Linked DNA regions of Homo sapiens: region 2 is linked to region 1. Evidence: promoter capture Hi-C in human tissues and cell types (Jung and others, 2019). All regions are on one chromosome and are shown on one strand. Each heading gives the region's core, a stretch centred on a gene start or on the middle of the fragment in contact. The rest is flanking DNA. Distances are from core to core; before and after follow the strand shown.

The links. Contacts are between HindIII fragments. The study calls those that stand out against the background at their distance.
Region 2: the fragment with the promoter of HGSNAT here is called in contact with the fragment with the promoter of GOLGA7 in region 1 in 1 of the 25 tissues and cell types used here (aorta).

What each region holds. Positions count from the first base shown.
Region 1 is chr8:41,488,010-41,494,644 of GRCh38, reverse strand. GOLGA7 (golgin A7) reads right to left here and starts at 4,063. Exons shown (of 5, transcript NM_001002296.2): 1 at 3,680-4,063. The coding sequence starts at 3,790. RefSeq lists enhancers at 3,433-3,542, 3,593-3,702, 3,993-4,122 and a silencer at 4,173-4,432. The HindIII fragment of the contact is 13,455 bases long and covers 1-6,635 here.
Region 2 is chr8:43,135,237-43,142,021 of GRCh38, reverse strand. It overlaps HGSNAT (heparan-alpha-glucosaminide N-acetyltransferase), which reads right to left and starts at 1,558. Exons shown (of 18, transcript NM_152419.3): 1 at 1,408-1,558. The coding sequence starts at 1,525. RefSeq lists silencers at 579-958, 969-1,758 and an enhancer at 2,602-2,896. The HindIII fragment of the contact is 19,681 bases long and covers 1-6,785 here.

The sequences.
Region 1 (6,635 bases), core at 2,814-5,313:
TGTAGATGTGGTGTCAAGGCTGGTCATCTGGGAAACTGTGAGTTCTCATTCACGAAAACAGACTGAGGAGAGCTCAGCAAACAAAAATGGTAAGCTGTTACGTTCACCTAATTATGCCTACGTTAATGCCTTCAGTTTGTCCACCGATAAGTCTACAAAAGTCTAAATAATTCCAATCACATTTGATGTGCCTATGTTATAAGTCATTGAATTATTTATATTTCTTTACAATACAATTCAAAACCATGGGATTCAACCCAGAAACATCTTATTTCTTTCATATCAGAATTACTGTTTATCCCGGAAACCCTAATTATTATTATTTTTTAAGTTTAGTGACAGAGTATCGCTATGTTGCCCAGACTGGTCTTGAACTCCTGGCCCCAAGGGATACTCCTACCTCAACCCCCAGAGCAGCTGGGATTACTTGGGTGCAAACCACCATGCCCAGCCAGAAACACTTAATTCTTATGCGTTATTCCGAGATTACAATGCCCTATAGGTTAGAGGTAAATCATACGTCAGTTAAACAAACAAACAAAAAAAGGTTAATAAAAAAAGAAAAAGAAAGGATAAATGGTTAAAGAAAAGTAAATGCCAACAAGTTTTTGAAAGGTTATTTTAAAAAAGGGAAATAAAGGGTAAAAATCACAGAAGGCATCAATAAAGGCAAACGACAAACTTCACAAGAAAGGGCTCAAGAGAACAAATGTTGGCATTTGTATCTTACTACCTTTAGGCTATGAATAACAGTGGCCAGTGTTCTCCCTTAGGTTCCTGGACACTGATACAGGAGCTCTATCAAAATTTAGATATATGAGAAGTCACAGCCAAATAAAATTTGGACCCACAAACATCAAAAATCAGAATGGAAAGAGAAATCAGGCTTATTTTCCCAGAATTACTGTGAACTACACAGTAGAAAGCATGGTGAAGCATGCAGTGATCACGTATCAAGGGTGGCAGGTCAAAGGTAATTACTAACCAGATGGGGAGACATATTTTTAAAGGGAAAAAATGCCTCAATTACAGTTCACTCATTCTTCTACCCAGACCAAGGGTAACTAAGATATCTGTATTTTAAGGCTAATGAGAATAAAGTTTCCTTTAAGGAATTGTTCTGGCAACAAATCGCTTAAGCATCAAAGTATTACATTCTAAAAGGCAGCAGAGAAAATGAACTTGTTAACAGACAGAACCTATCCTACTCCCAAATTAAAGGGCACAAATGTGTGTGTATTTTTAAAAAATGCTTTAAAATAATACAAAACACTTGCATATTAGTCACTTTCTCTATTATGTTGCCAAGTGTGATGTTCTCACAAAAGGAAAATCAGCTCCAATAGCAGAGCAATCAGTAAAATTTCTAGGGTAAGTAGTAGAGAAACAGAAACCTTTCAATTTTTCATCAAAGCAAGGAAAGTTTAAACCTGTAATTTAAATTTAATCTCAACACACATACACAGACAATCAAAGCTTTTCTAGTGGTTTAAAGCATAAGCTAGTGTTTTAACCCAAACATTTAAAAAGAAAAAAGAAATTCAAAGGCACAATTGAAGAGTGCCATGTAACATTCCATATAGTACTCAGTACCACAAGCAGTTCTGGGCTATACAGAGTCAAAGAGGTAAAAGGACTCCAGAATTTAGAAACATCAATTTCCTGACAAGAATCAGTGGAGCACAGTAACTACATTGTGCTTTTGCACTTAGATTACAAAATAAAGGCTCTGCCACACACAGAGTGGAAGGCTAATGTCTGATTCTGTGTATACACATTTAGCTCAAATATATGAGGTGTAAGTGTTGCTTTAAAACCTTAAAGCAAAGGAATCTTTAATGTCCAAATAATTGTGGTAAAAAAAGAATACTTTATATTCTGATTTTGAAGTACATAAATTGTATGTCATAGTTTCCGTAAGAGGCTTAAAAATAAAACATTTGATTGATTCCATGTATATCTTTTTATTTGATTTATTTTTTGAGACAAGAGTCTTGCTCTGTCGCCCAGGCTGGAGTACAATGGCATGATCTCGGCTCACTGCAACCTCCGCCTCCCAGGTTCAAGAAATTCTTCTACTTCAGCCTCCTGAGTAGCGGGGATTACAGGTGCCCGCCACCATGCCTGACTAATTTTTGTATTTTTAGTAGAGATGGGGTTTCACCATGTTGGCCAAGCTGGTCTTGAATTCCCGACCTCAAGTGATGCACCCGCCACGGCCTCCCAGAGTGCTGGGATTACAGGCGTGAGCCACCGGGCCCAGCCAGATTCCATGTCAATCTTAACATGTAAAACACATCAATTGTGATGTTAAATTATTTTAAAACAACATTCAGTAGCTCTACCCAACTGGCCACTTGCTGAATTTCTACCTCTTCAAACCACTGTAGATAGTTCCACCTATTGTCACGCTCAGTTAACTCATAACATAGTTGACAACATACTGCAGCATTTAAATGGCATTTCAGAAACAAGTCACCTCACCATCTTTTAAAGGCATATTTGATCCATTTGCAATTCAAGAAACATATTTGGGCCATGAAGCTGCCCATGGTTATGTCAAACTGAAGGAAACTATAATGGATCATTGTTGATTTCCCAACCATGGAAATCGGGCAGTGCAACCCACCTCACTGCAAACTGACTGTAAATAACTGCTACACATTTCTCTACACAGACTCATCCACACCCACTTATCCCATGACCAGCATCTCTCAGTCCCACACCCAAGGAATGCCTAATCACCTCTCAGGCCCTCGTCCTCCCTGTCACAGAGGAGAGAGCCACAAAACCTGCTTCCAGCTAACCAGAAATTGATCCCTGAACGGGAAACACAATCTACATAACATGGGTCAAGACCAAAAGAATCTTTGGTTGAATGTACATATGTGGGCACACAAAAACACAGGCAGGCACGCACACACTCCATTACCTCTACAACAAGATACAATGATTTTTTTTTTTTTTTTAAAGTTTTGCTAGGTCTGAAGGGGAAGCAAATCCCATTCTTCCATTTTTGCCTGCAATGTTGCCCAAAGGACCTATATCCTGATGACCATTTTGATATGCAAGACAAAACAGGTGGCTCCCAGTGAATGTGACAAGTTTAAGGCCTTGTTCTGAGACATTTTCCTGTCCAGGCCTATCTAACGCCCGACGTCTTTAAGGTTCCAAGAAAGCCTGAACGCACCGCCTGGCCATGCACCTAATAAACCCTTTCAGCCAAACAGTGCGGCCAGCACAGAGGCAGCAAACACCAGTCACGAGAATGATGATGATTTATCTTGCGCGGAGAGGTAGGAGGATATAGTTTACAACCTGGTGACTGAGACGACCTGGAGCCTCAGGAATTGGCTCCTCATCGCTGCCGACAATAACCCGGGGTGGGGATTTGGGGGAGTGCAGCAGGGGAACACTGCTGGATCCAGATTCCCGGCACCGGGCAACAAAGTTCCATAAGGTCGTCAACCCCGGCGATCGGCCTATATTATTCTTCCTGCTCCAAACACCTGTCTTGCTTAGTGGCTCTCTTCTTACACGTTTGGCCAAGGCCCCTTCTGTGCCTGGACCTCCCCAGAACTGCGGGACCCTCAAAGGCCCGGTTGTCGCCCACACCCTTCCCGTCCCCGGTGAGTCTCTCTCCCTCGCCAGAGCAGGCGTGGGGAGCCAGGTTGCGTACCCGGTTCTCCAGCTCCGCAGGGAACTTGGTCTGGAACTGGCAGCGTGTGCCACTGCTGTAGTCTCGCTGAATGAACACCTTTCCGGACACCGGCGCCTGCTGCGGCCTCATGGCGAGGACAGGACACCCCGCGCTGCGGGGTCGGGGGAACACCAACCGCGAGTCAGAGCCCCGGCCTGGACCCGGGACTCTGACCCGCCAGCCCCTCGCCCCCACCCGCCGCCGAAAACAGCCCAAGGCCTCCTCTGCCCCGCTCCCCTTCACCCATGCTGTCACCGCGGGCCTTAGCTGCCGCCTGGCCCAGGCCCCGCGCCCCCCACAACCCGGTTCGGCCCGGGAAACACAAACCCGCCTCCTCTGCCCTCCAGCTGCTGTCGCACCGCCTTCGCCGTCACTTACGTCCTGCCGCAAAAAGCCTCTTCCCCGCCCCTCAGCTCGGCCTCCTACCTCAGGTCTGGGACCCACCCTCTCCTCCGGCCGTAAAGCCACCCTGCCGAAGCTGCGCGCTGTGGGGCTGGGCCGAGGAAGGGAAATGATGTGGGCGGGGCCAGGGCCGACCCCGCCTTCCGCCCGCGCGGGGATTGTTTCCGGAAGGAGAGAGGCGGGGCGAGCTGTGGGGCTGCGGCCGGGGCGAGCTGTGGGGCTGCGGCCGGCGCGAGCGCGCGGGGGTGTGAGGGGCGGAGTTTCCCGGCTGTGTCACTTCCCTAGTGATTGTGGCAGGTGGTTCCCGATCACTGATTGTGAGGGGTCATTTTCGTTCTTGATTGGACGTCGCAGCTTACGTGTGGGTTATGCCACCCAACTCATACACAAAACAAAAAACAAAACATAAAGAAAAAACAACACCCCCTCCCCAAACCCTCAAACACAAACTGCTCATTGTGTTCAGAAGTAGAAAGCAGGCTCCAAGGATGGATCCATTTGGTCCCTAGACTCTTGAGAAAGGGTCAGGAAGTGAGGACGAAGAACCTGCCTGGGCCCCAGCGTTGGGCGCCCCTGCCCCGACTCTTCTTTGGGGGCGGCGTTCCTCTCACCCCCCATTTCCACCCAGCTCCCATCCACATCCCTCAGGTGACCAAGGGGACAAGTGGTTCCGCCCTCGTTGCCCACTGGCCCTTACTTGACTCAGCATTTCTTTGCAAGGCAGCCAAAGAAACCCCACCTTACCCTTGTCTCCTGCTAATACAACCTGTTAGTACCACTGTCTTTTATATATTTAATATAGTTTAAATATCCTGCCTTTTAAATATGAAAAATTCTCTTACTGTATTTTAAAAACAGCTTTTTCGAGATATAAATGGCATACAATAAACCACACATTTAAAGCAGTGGATTTGATAACTTTGGACATATGAATACACCCATAAACCACTGTCACAATCAAGATAGTAAAGCTCCATTGCCCTGAAAAGGTTCCTCCAGCTCCTGTGTAATCTCTCCCTCCTGCCTCTCCCAGACCCCATTTCCCAGGCACTGATCCACCTTCTGTCACTCAACATTAGTTTCATTTCCTTGAATTTTATATAAATTGAATCATATAGTGTGTACCCCCTTTTTTTGCCTGGCTTCTTTCACATAGACTATTTTGAAGTCCATCTGTTGTTGTGTTATCAATAATTCATTTATTTTTGATGCTGGATAGCTATTCCATTGTATGGCCATCCCACAGTTTGTTTATCCATTCATCTGTTGATGGACATTTGGATTGCTTCCAGTTTTGGGATGTTACAAATAAAGCTGCTATGGACATTCATTTGCAAGTCTTTGCATAGGTGTGTAGACCTTAATGCTTTCATTTCTCTTGGGTACATACCTAGGAGTAGAATGGCTAGATTGTACGGTAAAAACACGTTTAACTTTTTGGCAGACTGACAAACTGTTTTCCAAAGTGGTGACACCATTTTGCATTCCCACCAGAGTTCCAGTTGCTCCACATCTTTGCCAAGACTTGGGTAGTAATATCTTCTGCAGCTATAATTTTCATTTTTCCATGACTAATTATTTTGAACATATTTTCCTGTACTTATTTGCCATCCATGTATCTTCTCTGGTGAAGTGTCTATTTAAAACTTTTGCCCATTTTTTTGTTTGTATTTTATTTTCCTGTTGTTGAGGGGTTTTTTGTTTTATTTTGTTTTGATTTACATCTTTATTGGCTGGGCTTAAGGTCAGTTTTAAATTTTTAAGGCACTTTAATTCTTGGATTTTTGTATGTTTAAAGATGTTTTCCTGAGGCCTTTATACTTGCGTGAGAACTTGGCCGGGCTGTTTTTGAGTTTTGAGTTCTTTATACATTCTGGAGAAAAATCCTTTATCAGATATGTGATTTGCATGCATTTTTCACAGTCTGTGATTTGTCTTTTTACTCTCTTAACACGTTAGGGGTTTGAGGGGATTAGGGTGTGGACCTCTTGGGGAGGGCATTTCTGCCTCCCATAGGTATAGAGTGAAACTCTTCCCTCCCCCCGTATGATTATGCAGTTGTTATTCAGTTGTTTACGTACCATTTGTTGAAAAGACTCTCATTTCTTCACTGAATTGCCTTTGTATCTCTGTTGAAAATCAGTGGGGGCCGGGCGCGGTGGCTCACGCCTGTAATCCCAGCACTTTGAGAGGCCGAGGCGGGCGGATCACGAGGTCAGGAGATCGAGATCATTCTGGCTAACACGGTGAAACCCCGTGTCTACTAAAAATACAAAAAATGAGCCGGGCGCCGTGGCGGGCGCCTATAAGTCCCAGCTACTCGAGAGGCTGAGGCAGGAGAATGGGGTGAACTCGGGAGGCGGAGCTTGCAGTGAGCGGAGATAGTGCCACTGCACTCCGGCCTGGGCTAAAGAGCGAGACTCTGTCTCAAAAAAAAAAAAAAAAAAAAAAAGAAAAAGAAAATCAGTGGTGTGTGTGTGTGTGTGTGTGTCTGTCTGTCTGTCCCTCTGTCTGCCTGTTTTGGACTTTCTAT
Region 2 (6,785 bases), core at 309-2,808, 1.6 Mb before region 1:
GAAAGCTGTGCGGCCCAAACATGGGCTCCAGGTGACAGGGAAAGCCTTGCGGTCCCAACGCGGCTTCCCCTCACTACGTGTGATTACTATTTACAAACCACCTCTCTCTAAAAGTAAGTGCCCTTTGATAAGCTAATACTGGCGCTAAAATGCAAAGAGTGTTCGGCGGGATCAGTCCCTGACAAATTGTGATCAGGCAGATTACATAACCTCCCCGGGGTCCTTGCAATTTTAAAGGAGGGGAGCGCAGGAGATGAAGGTTGGGTGGATCAAGGATCGCACAAAATGTAATCCTCTGAGCCGCTTTTCCAAAATTCACAACGCCTTTCTCCTCCAGCTTCTGCTTGGAGAGGAGGGGTCGTTTGAACTCCATACACAGACACTAAAACTTCGTATTCTGACCAAGAAAAGGGCGCGAGAGGGGAAAGACAGGTGACTCCCACCGTCCCTCCTACCCAAAGGGGTTTGCGATGCTTGCCCGACCCCTCTGGGAGGGGCGTGTGCGAAGGACCTAGGGCCTGGGGCTCCCCGGTGCAGGGGTCTAGATGGAGACCTGGAATCTGTATTTGTCACCGTTTTCCCCACCGAGTTCGGAGAGCAAGCCAGTTGTGCAATCACGGTATGAGCTGAGCGCCTCTTAAGCCAGCGCACCGGACAAACGCCCGGGGTCCGGGGCCCGGGGCAAAAGCGCCCAGCCCGGCCCCTCCCAGGCGGCGGCGGCGGCGGCGGCGGCTTCCCAGTCACCCTGGAGGGAAAACGCGCCGAGGGGAGACGCGCGGAGGGCTCGCCCGGGACCGGGCTGCAGGCCGCGCCCCCACCGCCTTCTCCGCGGTTCCTCACCCGCCGCACATCCACGCAGGTTCAACCCCAGCGCGGGGCGAACGCGCGTCCCGGCCCCAGGCTTCCCACCCGCTGAAGCCAATGGGTCGCACGGCTCCGGCGCCACGTCCTCGGGGGCGAGGCCCTCAGGGAAGGGACCCTGCTCTAAGTCCCTCCGAACAGTGGACTGGGTGCAGGGGGAGTCCGAGCCCCCCCGATCCTCGGCTGGCCCGCCTCCTGGCTGCCAGTTTGTGGGGTCCCGGCGTCCCGATCCGCGGCCTCTGTTTAGACGGAAGGCGCCAGGACGCAGGCTCCGCTGGGGTGGGCGCCGCCTGGGCGCCCAGGTTCCACTCCGCCGCGGTCCGAACCGCCCCCTCCCCCGCCTCCGCGGGGCCCGGCCGCAGCACCCCGAAGTCCGGCCTCCGGTCTGGGGCGCGGGACCGCGAAGTCGCAGCAACAGCCCAGGCCACGGGGGCGGTTCCGGCCCGGCCTAGCGCTCGGCGCCGCGCACGGAGATAGGGGCGGCGCCGCGGAGAGGAGACGCTGCGCTCGTAGCCGGCCGGGCGGCGGTAGGAGGTGTGCACTCACCTCGTGGCGGCGCGGCCTGGGCATCGCGCCCCGAAGAGCCGCCGGGGGCCAGCAGCGCGGCGCTCAGCACGGACGCGGCCAGCAGCAGCGCGGCCAGCGCCCTGCCCGCCCCGCTCATGCCCGCCGCCCGCTCGGCCGCCCTTGCCTGCCCGCTGCGCCCCGCCCTGCGCTGCTCCGCCGCGGACGCCCGCGCGCCCGTCATCGCCCCCTCCGCTGCCGTCACCGCCGCCTGAGTCACCGCGGGAGGCGGAGGCGCCCGGGAGCCGCGGGCGGGGGAACCTAGGGGCTGGGCCGGGCCATGCTAGGCCCTGCCTTGAGGGAGCTGGCCAGGAAAGAAGCCGAGGCTCTGCGCCCCTGCGTTGGGAGTGTTTGTCTTCGGGAGGAAAAACAGCCGGAAGAGAGGCCCCTGCAGGCCAGGAGCCTTCTTCCCTCGCCCCACCTTCTCCAGCCGCATTCTGCCAAACTCCCGCCCCCGCCGGCCACCCTCCGCACGGGTGTTAGAGCCCTCGGTCCCTGTTTTGGAAAACGCCTCAATAAGCAAGACTGCAAAGTCCCTGCCCCCAAGGCGTTTATTACCCAGAGGGAGAGGCACGACTTAGAAGCCACCAAGCGGCCCCACCTCTTGAAAGAGCCCCCGGCCAGGCTGACGAAGTGGAAGGGAGCAGGTCGAGGAGTGTGCACACCCATTCTTGGCTGTATGCCGGGAGACACTATCGCAGGTATAAGGGACAGGTACAGTAATACCTATAGCAGAGGTGCTTGTAATTGCAAAACCTTGTCAACAAGCTGAATGTCCGCCAGCGAGAAAACAAACTGCCCCACAGCAGGGGAAGTGCTCTACAGCTTCCCGCATCCACATGGATAAATCTCAAAACACAAGGCTGGGGAAAATGCAAATTGCAGAATGCCTTTTTAATATATAAAGCAAAACAATAATGTATGTTGTTTAGGGACATCCATATATGTAATAAAAATACAAAGGCACACATGAAAATGTTGCGGGACTTTTCCTTAGTTCAGCTAAAGACGGTGGAGGTCCTTGTCACACGCCAGGAAAGATTAGGCTCGCAGACAATTTGAAGGGTAAGGCAGGGTTTTATTGGGTGTAAAGGAAGAAAAAGGGGAACAGGGACTCAGCAGAGCCAGAGTTCTCCTAGTTGTAGGCTTCCCACCTCACAGATTAAATCCCAGGTTCTCCCGAGGAAGAGGAGGGCCAGGCTCCTCCCAGCTGCAAACTGAGGAGCGAACTTCTGTGGCTCCACCCCAGAGCAGTGCACAGGCCAGTTGGAGTTTTACCAGGGAACCCTTCCCATCTGGCTCATTCCTCGCTCTAAAGAAGTCTATCTAACTGCCACTAGGATAAGAATAGGGACAAAGACAGATCTTAACTGCTTCCTGCTGATAGGGGGCACTGTTTCGGGAAAATGGCAATCAGATCTCCCTCAGAGGCCTATCTAAGGGTGCCCAGCAGAAGGGGCCATGGTCCGAGCTTCCAGTAGCATGACCGTTTGATGTCCTGAAGGCAAGAAGAGACAAACTGGGTTATTAAACACATATGGCCGGGCACAGTGGCTCACGCCTGTAATCCCAGCACTTTGGGAGGCCAAGGCAGGTGGATCACGAGGTCAAGAAATCGAGACCATCCTGGCCAACATGGTGAAACCCTGTCACTACTAAAAATACAAAAAATTAGCCGGGCGTCATGGCAAGTACCTGTAGTCCCAGCTACTTGGGAGGCTGAGGCAGGAGAATCACTTGAATCCGGGAGGCAGAGTTTGCAGTGAGCCAAGATTATGCCACTGCACTCCAGCCTGGCAGGTCAGGAGTTCAAGACCAGCCTGGCCAACATGGTGAAACCCTGTCTCTACTAAAAATACAAAAATTAGCCAGCAGTGGTGGTGCCTGCCTGTACTCCCAGCTACTTAGGAGGTTGAGGCAGGAGAATCGTTTGAACGGAGGTTGCAGTGAGCCAAGACCACATCACTGCACTCCAGCCTGGGCGACAGAGTGAGACCCTGTCTCAAAAAAAAAAAGAAAAGAAAAGAAACAAGGGGAGGGATAAGGACAGCTCAAAAATCCTGAGGCTTTTTACCAATTTGTACACGGAGAAGGGGGCCAAAAGTCCGAATGGTAAACAACTTTACCCTTTTGCTGGCATGTTGGGCTTCTGGGTTCCCTTCCCCTGAAACCAATCCTAAGCCAGCCAGTTTAAGGTTTAGGAAATTAACTCTTTCCAGTTTGGAAAATGCATCTGAGGGGAGTGTCCCATAGTATGGAGACACAATTAGGATTGTCATTGTGAACCGAGGAGGAGAAAGGAAAAAAGAAGGCATTTTTTCAAAGGAATCCGAAGGGTTCCAGATGCATTTGAAAGTGGTGCAGACTGAAGATAAATGGCTACCCACATAGAAAGAGGGGAGCAGGCATCCCTGGTTCTTTTCCTAGCAAATACCTGGGGTACGTGAGGGATAGAAGGAATAGCGTCCTCTTCCATCCTTGCATCCCCATGCAACCTTCGAAAGTGCTACCATGGGTGCCAAAATGGCTTGCATCCATGAAGCAGGGGTCTAGAGGGTGGGAATTATCTCCTCTACCCATGAATGCCCTATCACCCCTGCTGTCAGTAGTCTTGGAGTTCCCTAGACCTCACTTATGCTCAGGGGTTGAGGGGTTGCATGGACTCCTTCTCGTAAGCCAAATGCTAAGGAAAAACTGTGGAACTGAGTCCTCCAACAAGGGAGAGAAAAGGATGTCTTGTGACACACCCAGATAACTGGTGGCTACAGTTATGTTTGGTAGGATTTGGGTGCATGGTGCTTGGCTTTGGTTAGCTCCCTTGGTCTTACTTTCCCAAAAGGAAACCTCTGGATGATGGGCACCCTATTTATTCCCATTGCCTAGCAGAATTTGCAGGATAATTGCTCATAACTAGAATACTAATCCAGATTTTTTTACATTACCCATCCCTCTTGTTCTTTCTGAGCTGCAGCTGGAGATTGCTGGTTGGTTCACAAGCAGGGTCAGTCTAAAAATGCAGGCAAAAATTTAAAAACAACTGAGTTTAGAATTGAATGACAAATTATGGTAAGTTTTGGAACATAATTTTTCTCCAGGCCTCGTTTTTGTTAAAAAAAAAAAAAAGAAAAGAAAGAAAAGAAAAGAAATTATGATAGGACTCAGTTGTTTGCAAAATAGACTTCAGTCTTATACTTGGCCTGATTATTTACATAAAGTGCAGCAAGAATAATTATTTCTACAAAGGCCTTTTGGACTGGCTTTGATGGAACTCTGTTCCACAAGGAATCTCAGATAAGATAAAGCCAAGCCCAGCCATGAACTGGGCTAATCCTCTCCTCTTAAGTTCCCATGATACACCTTGGGTTGGGTGATCCTCTCCTCTTAAGGTCCCAGGATAAACTTGGAGCTCCTGGACCTGTTAGCAAGTGACATTCTTTACTGACCACAGGTCAGGAACCCTGTACAGGGACTGTGTAGACAAGAGTATGAGGCCAACTTCCCCACTGGGCTTTTATTGGCCCTGCAAGTCGAGATTGATTCTTTAAACAGAAGCATAGCCTTCCAGTGAAAGCCTCGGGAAAATAACCAGTTTTTCCAATTGCGTCTTGTTAACAAAAGATAAATGGATTCCTATCACACCGATCCAGACAACTATATTGCCACAAGTTAAAAATACTCACAGATAGTTTCCAGATTCTAGAGGAACCAGGCCGGGCGCAGTGGCTCACAGCTAATCCCAATACTTTGGAAGGCCAAGGCAGGCAGATCACTTGAGGTCAGGAGTTCGAGACCAGGCTGGACAACATAGTGAAACCCCATCTCTACTAAAAATACAAAAACTACCTGGGCATGGTGGCCCGCGCCTGTAGTCCCAGCTACTCAGGAGGCTGTGGCAGGAGAATCGCTTGAGCCAGGGAAGCGGAGGTTGCAGTGGGCCAAGATCCCTCCACTGTAGTCCAGCCTGGGCGAAAGAGTAACAGTCTGTCCACAAAAAAAAAGGAACCAGGCAAAGAGAAACAAGCATGCTCCAAATCTTGTCCACAGGAGTATACCTCAGTCAATTATTAAAGACCATAAATAGTTTAAAATAAGTTTCCCTGACTCTGAAAAACAAAACAAGGATCAACAATATTCCCAGCAAAAGTCAAAAAGTTTGCTTCAGCTTTGAGTTCAGTCCATTTAGTTCTTGTTTTGCTTGATATTCGTGAACACTTCAGCTCTTTATGAATCCTGTACATTTGCCTTTATTCCAATGTGACAATCTCCAAAGTTATCAGAAACCTGTATTTGAGAGTACCTGCCAGAGTCCTATTGCTTATTATAAACCATCTTTTGAAAATGATTAAAACAAGACAACAATTGTCTGTGACTAGCCAAATGTCCAGGTTAGTTGCAGTTAGAAACACAATTGACAAAGAAGTTTGGCTATCTCTGTGGTTTACAATAACTTAACAACCTTAATTATGGTTGATAGCATATACTTAGACATTAGAGTTTTAGAAATCCCATATAATTTTGGAACATACATTAGCATTATTCACAAAAATATAACCTAAAGAAAACTGAACATCATTTTGGCAATCCCATGTACCTAAACATGTCAAATGATCCTGTTTACCTATTTCTTGGATATTTCAGGGGCACTCCAAACGGTCCAAAAAGCCAAACATCAGGAAAGACAATTTTGAAACTGAAGTTTGATTTGGGAAGGCTGTTAAATATGTTCGAGGTTTAAAGCACTTGATGTTATGAAACAGAATTCCAGATTACCATAAGTTATTTATTTTGCCAAAATGATGACTCAGAAATTTTAAAGAAGCAAAAATCTTTTATAACCCCTTACAAATTTTGCTGAAGAGCAGATCAGTGCCTTAAGAATACCTTGTTGTGCTTTTATTTCAATGCTCAATTTACAGAAAAATCATATAATACCCTTTGAAATTTAGTCAATATGTTCACATAGAAAACCCCTTTGCAAGATTAATTTCCACAATGCTTCCACCACTTGTTTGAACCTGCAACTTCATCCTAATTTAAAACAATCCTTTAACCCTAGGCAAAAATTTACATTTCCATGCCTTCTTATAACCTTTTACAAAAAAACACATTTGGCTGGGCGTGGTGGCTCACACCTGTAATCCCAAGCACTTTGGGAGGCTGAAGCGGGTGGATCATGAGGTCAGGAGTTAGGGACCAGCCTGGGCAACATGGTGAAACCTCATCTCTACTAAAAATACAAAAATTAACCAGGCATGGTGGCGCATGCCTGTAATCCCAGCTACTTGGGAGGCTGAGGCAGGAGAATAGCTTGAACCCAGGAGGCGGAGGATTCAGTGAGCCCTGATCACTCCACTGCACTC